Regions from separate parts of the Homo sapiens genome. Here region 2 is linked to region 1. The links are contacts of gene promoters, found by promoter capture Hi-C in blood cells and fetal thymus (Javierre and others, 2016). All regions are on one chromosome and are shown on one strand. The core of a region is centred on a gene start or on the middle of the fragment in contact, and the rest is flanking DNA. Distances in the headings are between cores, read along the strand shown.

The links. The method cuts DNA at HindIII sites, captures the fragments that hold promoters and counts their contacts. A CHiCAGO score of 5 or more calls a contact.
Region 2: a fragment that was not itself captured here is called in contact with the fragment with the promoter of MCF2L-AS1 in region 1 in 5 of 17 cell types (naive CD8 T cells, total CD8 T cells, total CD4 T cells and 2 more); the score reaches 10.2 in naive CD8 T cells.

The regions. Positions count from the first base shown.
Region 1 is chr13:112,966,186-112,971,436 of GRCh38, forward strand. It overlaps MCF2L-AS1 (MCF2L antisense RNA 1), which reads right to left and starts at 2,453. Exons shown (of 1, transcript NR_034002.1): 1 at 1,299-2,453. It overlaps MCF2L (MCF.2 cell line derived transforming sequence like), which reads left to right and starts at 3,029. Exons shown (of 30, transcript NM_001112732.3): 1 at 3,029-3,273. The coding sequence starts at 3,195. RefSeq lists an enhancer at 2,184-2,703 and a silencer at 2,905-2,964. The HindIII fragment of the contact is 5,254 bases long and covers 1-3,310 here.
Region 2 is chr13:113,212,349-113,217,599 of GRCh38, forward strand. All of the region lies in intron 2 of CUL4A (cullin 4A), which reads left to right. Among named protein-coding and RNA genes, the nearest start is that of CUL4A, 5.4 kb to the left of the region's middle. The HindIII fragment of the contact is 3,901 bases long and covers 1,201-5,101 here.

The DNA of each region.
Region 1 (5,251 bases), core at 1,203-3,702:
ATTAAATGATGTTTATGGAAAGATGGCATCATCTGTGCTATAATTTAAGGCAGAATAAAGACTAGACAGAGCTAGAGAGAGACTTAGCTGAACAAATCAGCTCCTGAAATTGTGGGTGTTGGAAGGTCCAGGGGCAGCTGGGGACTGGGGAGAGTTGGGTTGCAGTCCAGGCTGTCTGGGAGCAGAGCTCCCTCTTCCTCAGGGAACCTCTGTCTTTTTCTCTCAAGCCCCTTGATAGATTGGGTGAGGCCCACCCACGTTATGTCACACACCTTACTCAAAGTCTACTGATATAAGTGTCAATCTCATCTAAACATACCTTCACAGAGACATCTAACCTAGCATTTGACCCAATATCTGGGCACGGTGGCCCAGCCAAGTTGACAAGTAATAAAGCCAATGACCACAGAGACCAAGGGTCTCCACCCTGGTGCCCCAACATGACATGGTGCCAGCCAGAGGATATTGGCCAGGGGACAGAGTGGATGGCACAGGGTTGAGGAAAGAAGCCAATAGCATGTGTGGAGATGCCCAAGGGGTGAAGAGGGAGATCGGAGAAGCGGGACAGGCCAGAGGGTGTGGCCCTTTCCTTTCATCTTGCTTTTAAGATGCAACAGATTTCAGCAGTGTTTCTCAAAGTGTGGACCAGCACATTCAACATCCCAGGAAATTTTGCTAGAAATGCACATCCTCGGGCCCCATCCCAGACCTCCTGGATCAGCAAGGAGCCATCAGAGCCCAGCTGTGTGAGCTTAACAAGTCCTCGGTAGATCCTGACGCAGCCCAAGGCTGGGCAGGCTGGAGGGCACCTGCATGCCAGGAGAGCGGCCGGGAGAAGAGGGCAGGTGCTCAGAGGGAGTGTGGCCTAGGGCCGTGTGGGCTGAGGACCAGGGAGGGTGTTGTGCCTTAGACTAGTGGAAAGGGCAGGGCCTGCATTTCAGGACCCTTCTGCCTGATGACAGGCTTTCCCTGAAGCTGGAGGGGCAGGGTTGGGGTGGGGGGGCGGTGGGGGATGGGGAGTGGTGAAGGTTCCCTGAACTGACAGGGAATGAGAGGAGCAGACCCATTTGAGGGCACTTTTTGCAGACCATGTGTAGACAGGAGGTAGCAATTGTGCCGCCGTAGGCACCCTGGGCAGCCCAGGGAACGCTTGTCCACAGAGGGAGAGGCTCCCATCCACTCTGAGGCCTTTCCAGAGTTCTCCTTTCACTGGTCTCCAAAGAGATTCTGTAGAACCAAGTGAAACTGCTGATACTCAATACGTTTCTCATGTTAAACAAAAACAAAAACAAAGCAGCCATTTCTTACAGATTTATTCAATACTTTCTATCTGGTTATTATGCCTCTTATTCTGTAATTATTTTTTATTATGAATTATTTATTTCCAGATCTGTCTGGCCTATAAGGCCTGTAGGCACTATAAGGGGGAGTACTGCGTCACCTTCATCTTTTTATCCCTTTGGCCTTGCTCCGTGCCTGAAAGCTCACCACACTGGAACGTCCAGGTGCACATGTGCCACTGGACACCGGGATGTTGCCGGATGCTCTTTTGGACGCTGGAATGCTGGTGCATTGTTGCCGGATGCTGGAATGGTGCACGCACGCTCTGTTGGACGCTGGAATGCTGGTGCATTGTTGCCGGATGCTGGAATGGTGCACGCATGCCCTGTTGGACTCTGGAATGCTGGTGCATTGTTGCCAAATGCCGGAATGGTACACGGATGCTCTGTTGGACGCTGGAATGCTGGTGCATTGTTGCCGGATGCTGGAATGGTGCACGCATGCTCTGTTGGACGCTGGAATGCTGGCGCATGTGCACATGTTATTGGCATGAGCTGTAGTTCAAACCTCAGCCATATGATGCTTGAATTCCCAAACCATTCGTGGAAATGTGTACTTCTTCCTGCTGGAATTCTCTCTCTCTCTCTCTCTCTTTTAACTGATTGGGGAGTGAGGTGGGGGGGGGGGTCTTGCTACATTGCCCAGGCTCAAACTTCTGGGCTCAAATGATCCTCCTGCTTCTGCCTCAGCTTCTGCCTCGGCCTCCGGAGTAGCTGGGACTACAGGCCTGAAATACTGTTTCTTTAAGGAAGGGCATGTTACCTATAATACCAAACCACAAAAGGATAGCTGCGGTTTTGGGCGAGGAGAGCTCAGAGAGTTTCTTGCATATGGCCCTGTGATGGCGGCCATGGCCCTGCATAGACACGAGCTGGAATCTGCAGGTGGCAGCCAGGACGCTGCGTGTGTCGAGTGCACAGTGTGGCTTGGTGCCAACCATGGCGAGGGTGGAGAGCCCCGTGCCTGCAGCGCGCGCTTCCCTCACTGGGTCCTGCGTCCTTGGGCAGGCGATGCCCCTGCGGGGAGGGGCTGGTCCATCCCCGGCCAGCCACGGACCCACGCATGGACCCAGCGACCCACGGACCTGCTTACCTGGGCGCGGCGCGGGTGGCATGCGGCCACACGGAAGGGGCGCGCTGGGCTGCTGCGGCCTCTGCAGCTTCTACACCTGCCACGGGGCGGCCGGAGGTAAAGGGAGGCGGCGGCCAGGCGCGGCCCCGCGGAGGCAGCTGCACTCGCTCGGTCCACTCGCGGCTTCGCGGCTGCCCGCAAACCAGGAGGGCGTGGAGACCCGGAACCGGGGGGAAGGGCGGGGGCACTTGTGCGGCACCCGCGGGGCTCCCAGGGGACCTCGGCGGTGACACGAATTTCTAGGTGACCTTGGCGGTGACACGAATTTCTAGGTGACCTGTGTGATACACTAGGTGACCTAGTGACACAGGTGACACTTCCAGGTGACCGCGGCGGTGACCCGCGGGGCTCCCAGGTGACCTCGTTGGTGAGCCCCGGGGCTCCCCGACGACCGCGGCGGTGACACGCGGGGCTCCCAGGTGACCCCGGCGGTGCACTCACAGGACTCCCAGGTGACCCGCGGTGGTGACACACCGGGGCGGGCGCGCGCCGCTTCCGCTTCCGCCGAGCCGCCCCCCGCCCCCCGCGGCGCAGCGCGCGCCCCCCTCCCGGTGGCGCGGAACCAATCCTGGGCAGGGAGGCGGCGGCTGGAGGCTGAAAGCGCTGCCGTGGCCCCCTCCCCGCCTCCGCCGCGCCCCCTCCGCACTCGCACGGCCCCACCCGCAGGCGCCCCCCGTGCGGAGGAAGCGGATCTGCCAGGATCATTTTTGTTGTGTCGGAGGATGAGGTTTTGGCTGAGGACTGAAGAGATGGCCTTGGAAGAAATGGTGCAGAGATTAAATGCGGTTTCCAAGCACACGGGTAGGAGGAGCTGCTGGCCGTCAGTGATCTGTGCTTAAGCTTGACATCATGGGCTGAAATGTGGGGAAATGCGTCTGATTTTTGTAAGCCGCCCTCGTGTTCCTTTCTAGCCGTGGTAGCTGTGACATGGGGGGCACTGGTTGGCAGCTGGTGTGTTTTCAGAGGCTGTCGGCGATCGTATGCTGCCCGGGATAGTCAAAATGACTGCACGTTGGTGACACTGGCTCTCTCAGGGTTGCTGGGTCTGCATGCGGAGCCATTTGTGTGTCTGAAGTCTGCCCATCAACCTGCCTGTCCGCAGCCCTCGCAATGGAGAATGCATTGCGAATGGAGAATGATCTGAGCCAAGGGCTTTCAGAGCTTGGGGTTTCAGAGCCAGGGGTAGGGATGGTGAAGCTACCTGGAAGCTCGTTTTGAGGATGAAAAAACCTGGACTAATCAGGTGGTTCTTTTCTTCATTAAATGCAATTTAAACCTAAGACAGATGTTTGAGACGGTATGGGTAAAGAGTGGACTGGACGTTCATTTTCAGTATTAATCGAAATATTACTTCAAATAAGCTTTGAAGAGTAGTTCAGATCGATTCTTTTAGGTGTAAGCAGAGACTGGGCTGACAGCTTGCATCTGGCCGTGGCTTTCAGGCGGTCGCATCTGAGTTCTCAGGCTGTGTTATGCAGAAGGGAGAGGCATCCTTAACTCGTTTTCCTTGAAATGAAGAGGAAATAATGATATATCATTAAAAGTAAGTTGCCAAGTGTTTTGCCTGATGTTGCCATATGTTATGTCATATATGCCATTACTAGTTGTCTAACTAGTACTTGCCTGGGAGATTAAAATGTCAGTTGCTTGGTTTGGGTGTGGTTCTCTTTCTCTGCCCACCCCGATGGATTCTGAGAGTGAACCAGTGATTAAATCAGCATAAGCACCATCGTATGGGATGGTCTAATCAAGATGTTTTTAATGGGGGCTTTTATGATCAAAGCTGCTGGGTTTATTGTATGTGGGTCGAAAGAAAACAAAACCATTTTCATGCCGTCTGCTCCCTGATTCTTAGAGAATCAGCTCTTTTTCTGAAGCTTGAGTGGAGCTTTTCCGTGCAGGGTTTGCAGGGTTTGAGTATGGTGAAGGGCTGCGTGGATGCCAGGTTCACAGGGAGGCTTCCGATCGGCTGTGGGGGTGGAGGAGAAAGCCCCCCTTGCTCTGCATGCCTCTGCGTGCCGTTCGGTGTCAGAGTCACAGAGTGGGAACCGCTCCAGAGGCTGATGTCATTCCCCAGGTTTTTAGGGATTGGGGTTTCTTCATGAGCTCCAAGAGACATGTGCGCATTTTTAATTGGAAAAAGGCTATCTCAGAAGAGCAGCAGTGACACTGTCTGCTCACTGAATGTCGTGCGAGCCGGGCGCTCGGTGTGGGCCATCGTCTCATCTGGAACAGGCAGTGAGATGTGCGTCCTCCCACACATCTGCATTACCGATAATTGCATGCTTCACCAGGACTTTCAAGTCCAGCTTACCAGATATCCTCGGTTATGAGCACCCTGTAGCGTTTAGTTAGGGGAGGTGACCCTGCATCATACTCCACTTACCACCCATTAACACTGGCCTCTTCCTTCAGCACAAACCCATTTTCTGCTCACGCTGTGTGAGGTACTGCTCAGCGGAGGCAAGTTATTAGGTTGAAGGCTGTAAAACCATCATGAGGGGGTTTATGATGCAGTATTGACATGATGCTACCACAGAGTGTACGGGTATGTGGTGCACATTCTCTGGTAGGGGTGAAGGTCAAGGTAAACCTGATCCCCACCTCGGGTTTAAATTCCAAGCACTTCCTCAGGAGAGTTCCCCACCTGCAGCCAAACACTCTTCAGCGGGAGGTCATGGAGCTGCTTCTCCTTCTGGGGTCATGCTAGGATCCGTGCCAGGTAAAAGCTGATGGCAACAGGACACTGATGTGGCGGCTGGTGTAGGTCCTCAGGGCA
Region 2 (5,251 bases), core at 1,901-4,400, 250 kb after region 1:
TAGTATCCAAGAAATCTTGCTTAATCTGAGGTCACAAAGTTTTCTCTTATACTTTCTTCCAGACATTTTAGAGTTTTAGGTTTTACATCTAGGTCTACGATCTATGTAGAGTGAATTTTTGTATATATTGTGAAATACAAATCTAGAGTCAGAGTCGGGTGCAGTGGCTCATGCCTGTAATCCCAGCACTTTGGGAGGCCAAGGTGGGTAGATCGCCTGAGCGTCAGGATTTTGAGACCAGCCTGGCCAACATGGTGAAACCCCATCTCTACTAAAAGTACAAAAAATTAGCCGGGCGTGGTGGCAGGCACCTGTAATCCCAGCTACTTGGGAGGCTGAGGCCGGAGAATCGCTTGAACCCGGGAGGCGGAGGTTGCAGTGAGCCGAGGTTGTGCCACTGTACTCCAGCCTGAGCAACAGAGTGAGACTCCATTTCAAAAAAATACAAAGAAAAGTCTAGAGTCAGTGTTTTCCCTGCAAATGTCCAGTTTTTCAGTCTCTTTTCCCCTACTGAATTGCCTTTGCTCCTTTGTCAAAAACCACGTAGGAGTAGGAGGAGTGAGTTGTGAAATCAGGGTGTGTTGGCCCCCCAGCTTCATACATTTGCACAGGTTTCTGGCTATTCTTGGTCCCTTGTGTTTCCATGTGAATTTTAGAATCGGCCAATTTGTATAAGAAAGTGTGCTAAGATTTTGATTGACGGTATATAGAATCTACAGATCAATGTAGGAGAATTAAATTCTTAACAGTATTGAGAGTCTGGGCTCAGTGGCTCACACCTGTAATCCCAGCACTTTGGGGGGCTGAGGTGGCCTGATCGCTTGAGCCCAGGAGTTCGAGACCAGCCTAGGCAACATGGTGAAACCCCATCTCTACAAAAAATTTAAAAATTAGCCTAGTGGGGTGTTGCATGCCTGTAGTCCCAGCTACTCAGGGCCCCCACACCACAACCTGGAAGCTCTTCACACAGGAAGCTGAGCAGTTGGGGCCTGTTTGTCTCCCATCTTTCTGAGATTCACTGTCTTTCATAGCCCAGTACTCAGTGCTTCGAAAACTGTTGCTTCGTATATTTTGCCTGATTTTGTGGTTATTTCAGGCAGAAAGTTAATACAGTTCTTGTACTGTGTCTTGACTAGAAACGAGTCCCACCTGAACTCTCAGAGGTCTTTGGTTTAATAAAATATGATACCTTACAGCTAAAGCTTCTTACTACTCTTTTCCTGGAGATTTGGCTGTCTGATATCTGCTGCCTCATTATTTTTACTTAAAAAGGCGGAATTACTTTGCAACACCTTGTACACAGTGATATGTCTTATAAAACAATCACTAGATATTATGAACAATGTTTGTAGGTGCCTTAGGTGTCTGTCTTGAAACCCTGAGAACTAGGAGTGCTTACCCCAAAATGACAGTCACTGGTTCCTCCTTGGAATGAGACATCGCAAATTCCAGGGGCATCTCTGGAGGTGCTGCCCCACCAGGGGATATGTGGAATCAGTTGATTCACTTACTTGTGATCATCTCTCCACGCACAGGTGGGCTTCTGGCCTCTCACAGAGTCTGAAGCATGAGCTGCCTCAGATCTATTGGAAGCAAATGGGATAGAAATCTAAGAAAAGCAAATGTGAAATTACTGATGTCTGATCAAGCAGGCAATACATTTGACTTGGTGTTTCAAAATAAAGTCTCAGTTTTTGTATAGGTGGGGTGGTGTATACTTTGCCAAAGAATCTTATGTGAAAGGACCAATTCTCACCCAAGTTTGAAAGGTTTGGTTTCGTGTTTGGTTTTTGGTTTTGCTCACTCTCCCTCTACGTCTAAACACCTTAGGAGTCCTGTCACTTACACTTTTTGGGCCTCAGCTGGCCTGTTGTTTCTGTTTGTTACTTTGTTTTTATCATTTTCCTCCTGTAGTGTGTAGAGGAGAATGTTGTGAAGGCATGGATCTTTTCCATTGAACGACCTGAATTTCGGTCTGTAATAACTAACTCCTGAAGAAAGTGCATCTTCTGTGTCTTGTGTCTCTATGTTTTAGTCCTGCTTGTTGCTAAATGAGACAACAGAAAACTGAAGACTGCATTTCTAGAAAGGTTTCAGAGAAAGGCTGTGTTTTGATTTAGAACTGGTTTTTTTGTTTTTTGTTGCACAAAAACAAACCTCTCAGGCCCTTTAAAAAAAAAGAGAGAGAGAGGTGTGGCCTCCCTATGTTGTCCAGGCTCCTTGGGAACTCCTGGACTCAAACAGTCCTCCTGCCTTGGCCTCCCGAAGTGCTGGGATTCCAGGCGTGAGCCATTGCACCCGGCTGACATGCAAGTTCTGAGGAAAGCCAGGCTGTCTTTCTTGAGTCACGGAGTAGTTGTCTTCATGACATGTTGATACCAGGTGATAATGGTCAGTGAAAGAGAGAGGTTAGTCCTTTGTATTAGGTGGCATCCTTCCCTCACACCCAAGCTGCAGGCCCAGCGTAGGAATGGGACCTCCACAGCCACACAGGTCTCATCCTGTGTGGCTGTGAAGGTCGCTATATGACTCTGGAGGTAGCTATGTGACTATGGAGGTCTCGTCCCGTGTGGCTGTGGAGGTCGCTGTGTGACTGTGGAGGTCACGTCCCATGTGGCTGTGGACATCTTGTCTGTGTGGCTGTGGAGGTTGCTGTGTGACTATGGAGGTCTCGTCCTTTGTGGCTGTGGACGTCTTGTCTATGTGACTGTGGAGGTTGCTGTGTGACTGTGGAGGTCGCGTCCCGTGTGGCTGTGGAGGTCACTGTGTGACCATGGAAGTCGCGTTCCGTGTGGCTGTGGAGGTCGCTGTGTGACTATGGAGGTCTCTCTCGTCCGTGTGGCTATGGAGGTCTGTGTGGGAGTATGGAGGTCACATCCCGTGTGGCTGTGGAGGTCGCTGTGTGACTGTGGAGGTTGCTGTGTGACTATGGAGGTCGCTATGTGACTATGGAGGTCGCTGTGTGACTATGGAGGTCTCATCCATGTGGCTGTGGAGGTCTCTGTGACCATGGAGGTCACGTCGCATGTGGCCGTGGAGGTCGCTGTGTGACTATGGAGGTCACGTCCCATGTGGCTGTGGAGGTCGCTGTGTGACCATGGAGGTTACTGTGTGCCTATGGAGGTCGCTATGTGACTATGGAGGTTGTTGTGTGACTATGGAGGTCTCGTCCATGTGGCTGTGGAGGTCTCTTTGTGACTATGGAGGTCACGTCCCATGTGGCCGTGGAGGTCTCTGCGTGACTGTGGAGGTCACGTCCCGTGTGGCTGTGGAGATCTCTGTGTGACTATGGAGGTTTCATCCATGTGGCTCTGAAGGTCTCTGTGTGACTATGGAGGTCGCGTCCCATGTGGCTGTGGAGGTCGCTGTGTGGCTATGGAGGTCGCGTCCCGTGTGGCTGTAGAGGTCGCTGTGTGACTATGGAGGTCTCGTCTGTGTGGCTGTGGAGGTCGCTGTGTGACTATGGAGGTCGCGTCCCATGTGGCTGTGGAGGTCGCTGTGTGACTATGGAGGTCTCGTCCGTGTGGCTGTGGAGGTCGCGTGTGTGACTATGGAGGTCTCGTCCATGTGGCTGTGGCGGTCTCTGTGTGACTATGGAGGTCTCGTCTGTGTGGCTGTGGAGGTCTTTGGGTGACTATGGTGGTCACGTCCCATGGTCCCATGTGGCTGTGGAGGTCGTGTGTGACTATGGAGGTCTCGTCCACGTGGCTGTGGAGGTCTTTGTGTGACTATGGAGGTCACGTCCCATGTGGCTGTGGAGGTCGCTGTGTGACTATGGAGGTCTCATCTGTGTGGCTGTGGAGGTCTTTGTGTGACTATGGAGGTCACGTCCCATGTGGCTGTGGAGGTCTCTGTGTGACTATGGAGGTCATGTCCCACAGCTCCATGGCCTTCCTTGTTCTGTCTTCCACATCTGAGAGCAGGGATTGCCCTTATCCGCAGTGAGCATTTTGTTTAAGTAGCAGTGAGTTCACTCCAGGCAATGCTTTGACACTATAAATAGACGTGTATTTGACATTCACACACGTGTCTGTTGAGCTAATACAGACAATCATTTGATGAACCTGCTAGTTAGGAAGTAGCTGTGATGTGAGAAGAGACAGTGCTGGCTGTAGATATACACCAAATTTCCTCACTTGGCTGTTGATACAAGGAAAGCATCTTGATACTAATAGGAGTAGAATGCAAATGATACTTCTCTACCTCCGATCATTGGATTACATTCCTTTTCTCTGGGGTGAATCTTTAAAATGCTAATGGCCTGAGTGCACCAACATGAAGCACACAGTACCATCTGATTAGTTGCTTTATGCATCCAGAGAGGGTATTTCTAAATCTCAAAGTATGATTGAGTGTCAAAAATCCATTTGGGGGAGGGGCAACTCCTGTGTTGTGCTGCTTCTATAACAGCACAAAAAAGTCTTCCAGTATGTTCCTGCCAGCAAGGAGTTGGCAGGGCGGGGAGAAACAAAGGCTGTCGCCTTTCCAGTGATGAGTGCCTGTAATATGAAGCCGGGAGTCCTGACTCAGCACCTACAGCAAACCTGGGTTACCCAGGGCTTGCCACTTGTTTTGAGAGGTTCTTAAATTCTTAATTTTAAAAACAAAGTAAATTGCAGTATGACTCATATGAATAGTAAATGTGCACCAAATAGGACACATAGGAGGCAGAGTGGGTTATAAAATATTTAGTCATTTGCCACAACCAGGAAAAGATGGTTTTAAGGATATTGGTTCTTGGTCTAGGAATTAAAACATCCAGAAAATGGTCCTAAGTTACTGTTGATTTTTGCTGAAGAAAATACATTTTCTTCATGTGTTATATAAAAAACTTACTTTGTAATAATTATGTTTGTGGGATTCACTAATGTTTAACTACTGGAGCAAAACCTTTGTCGTAAAGTTCTCTTGGTTGTTTGAGGAGACAAAAGGATGGCAGATCTTTGACCAAATTATGAAGATATGGAATTCAAAGGGATGGAATTGAAGAGTTTGAGAAAGGAGTTAAAGTAAATACAGAATGTGGGTAGGAATTCCGTTTCTATAGTAAGACAAAATGTAGGGGGAAAGTTTGTATTTCTTTGTTATTATGCTGATAATAAGCTTGCTAGAAAACAGGATTATAATTAAAAACAGGATTATAATTATTCCACATCCTCTTTTGATCTTTGTAAATATGCATGTATTTTATATGGTAGTAATCACTGTATGTATTTAACTTTGGTTAATATGTAGCAGCTCTCCGATATTT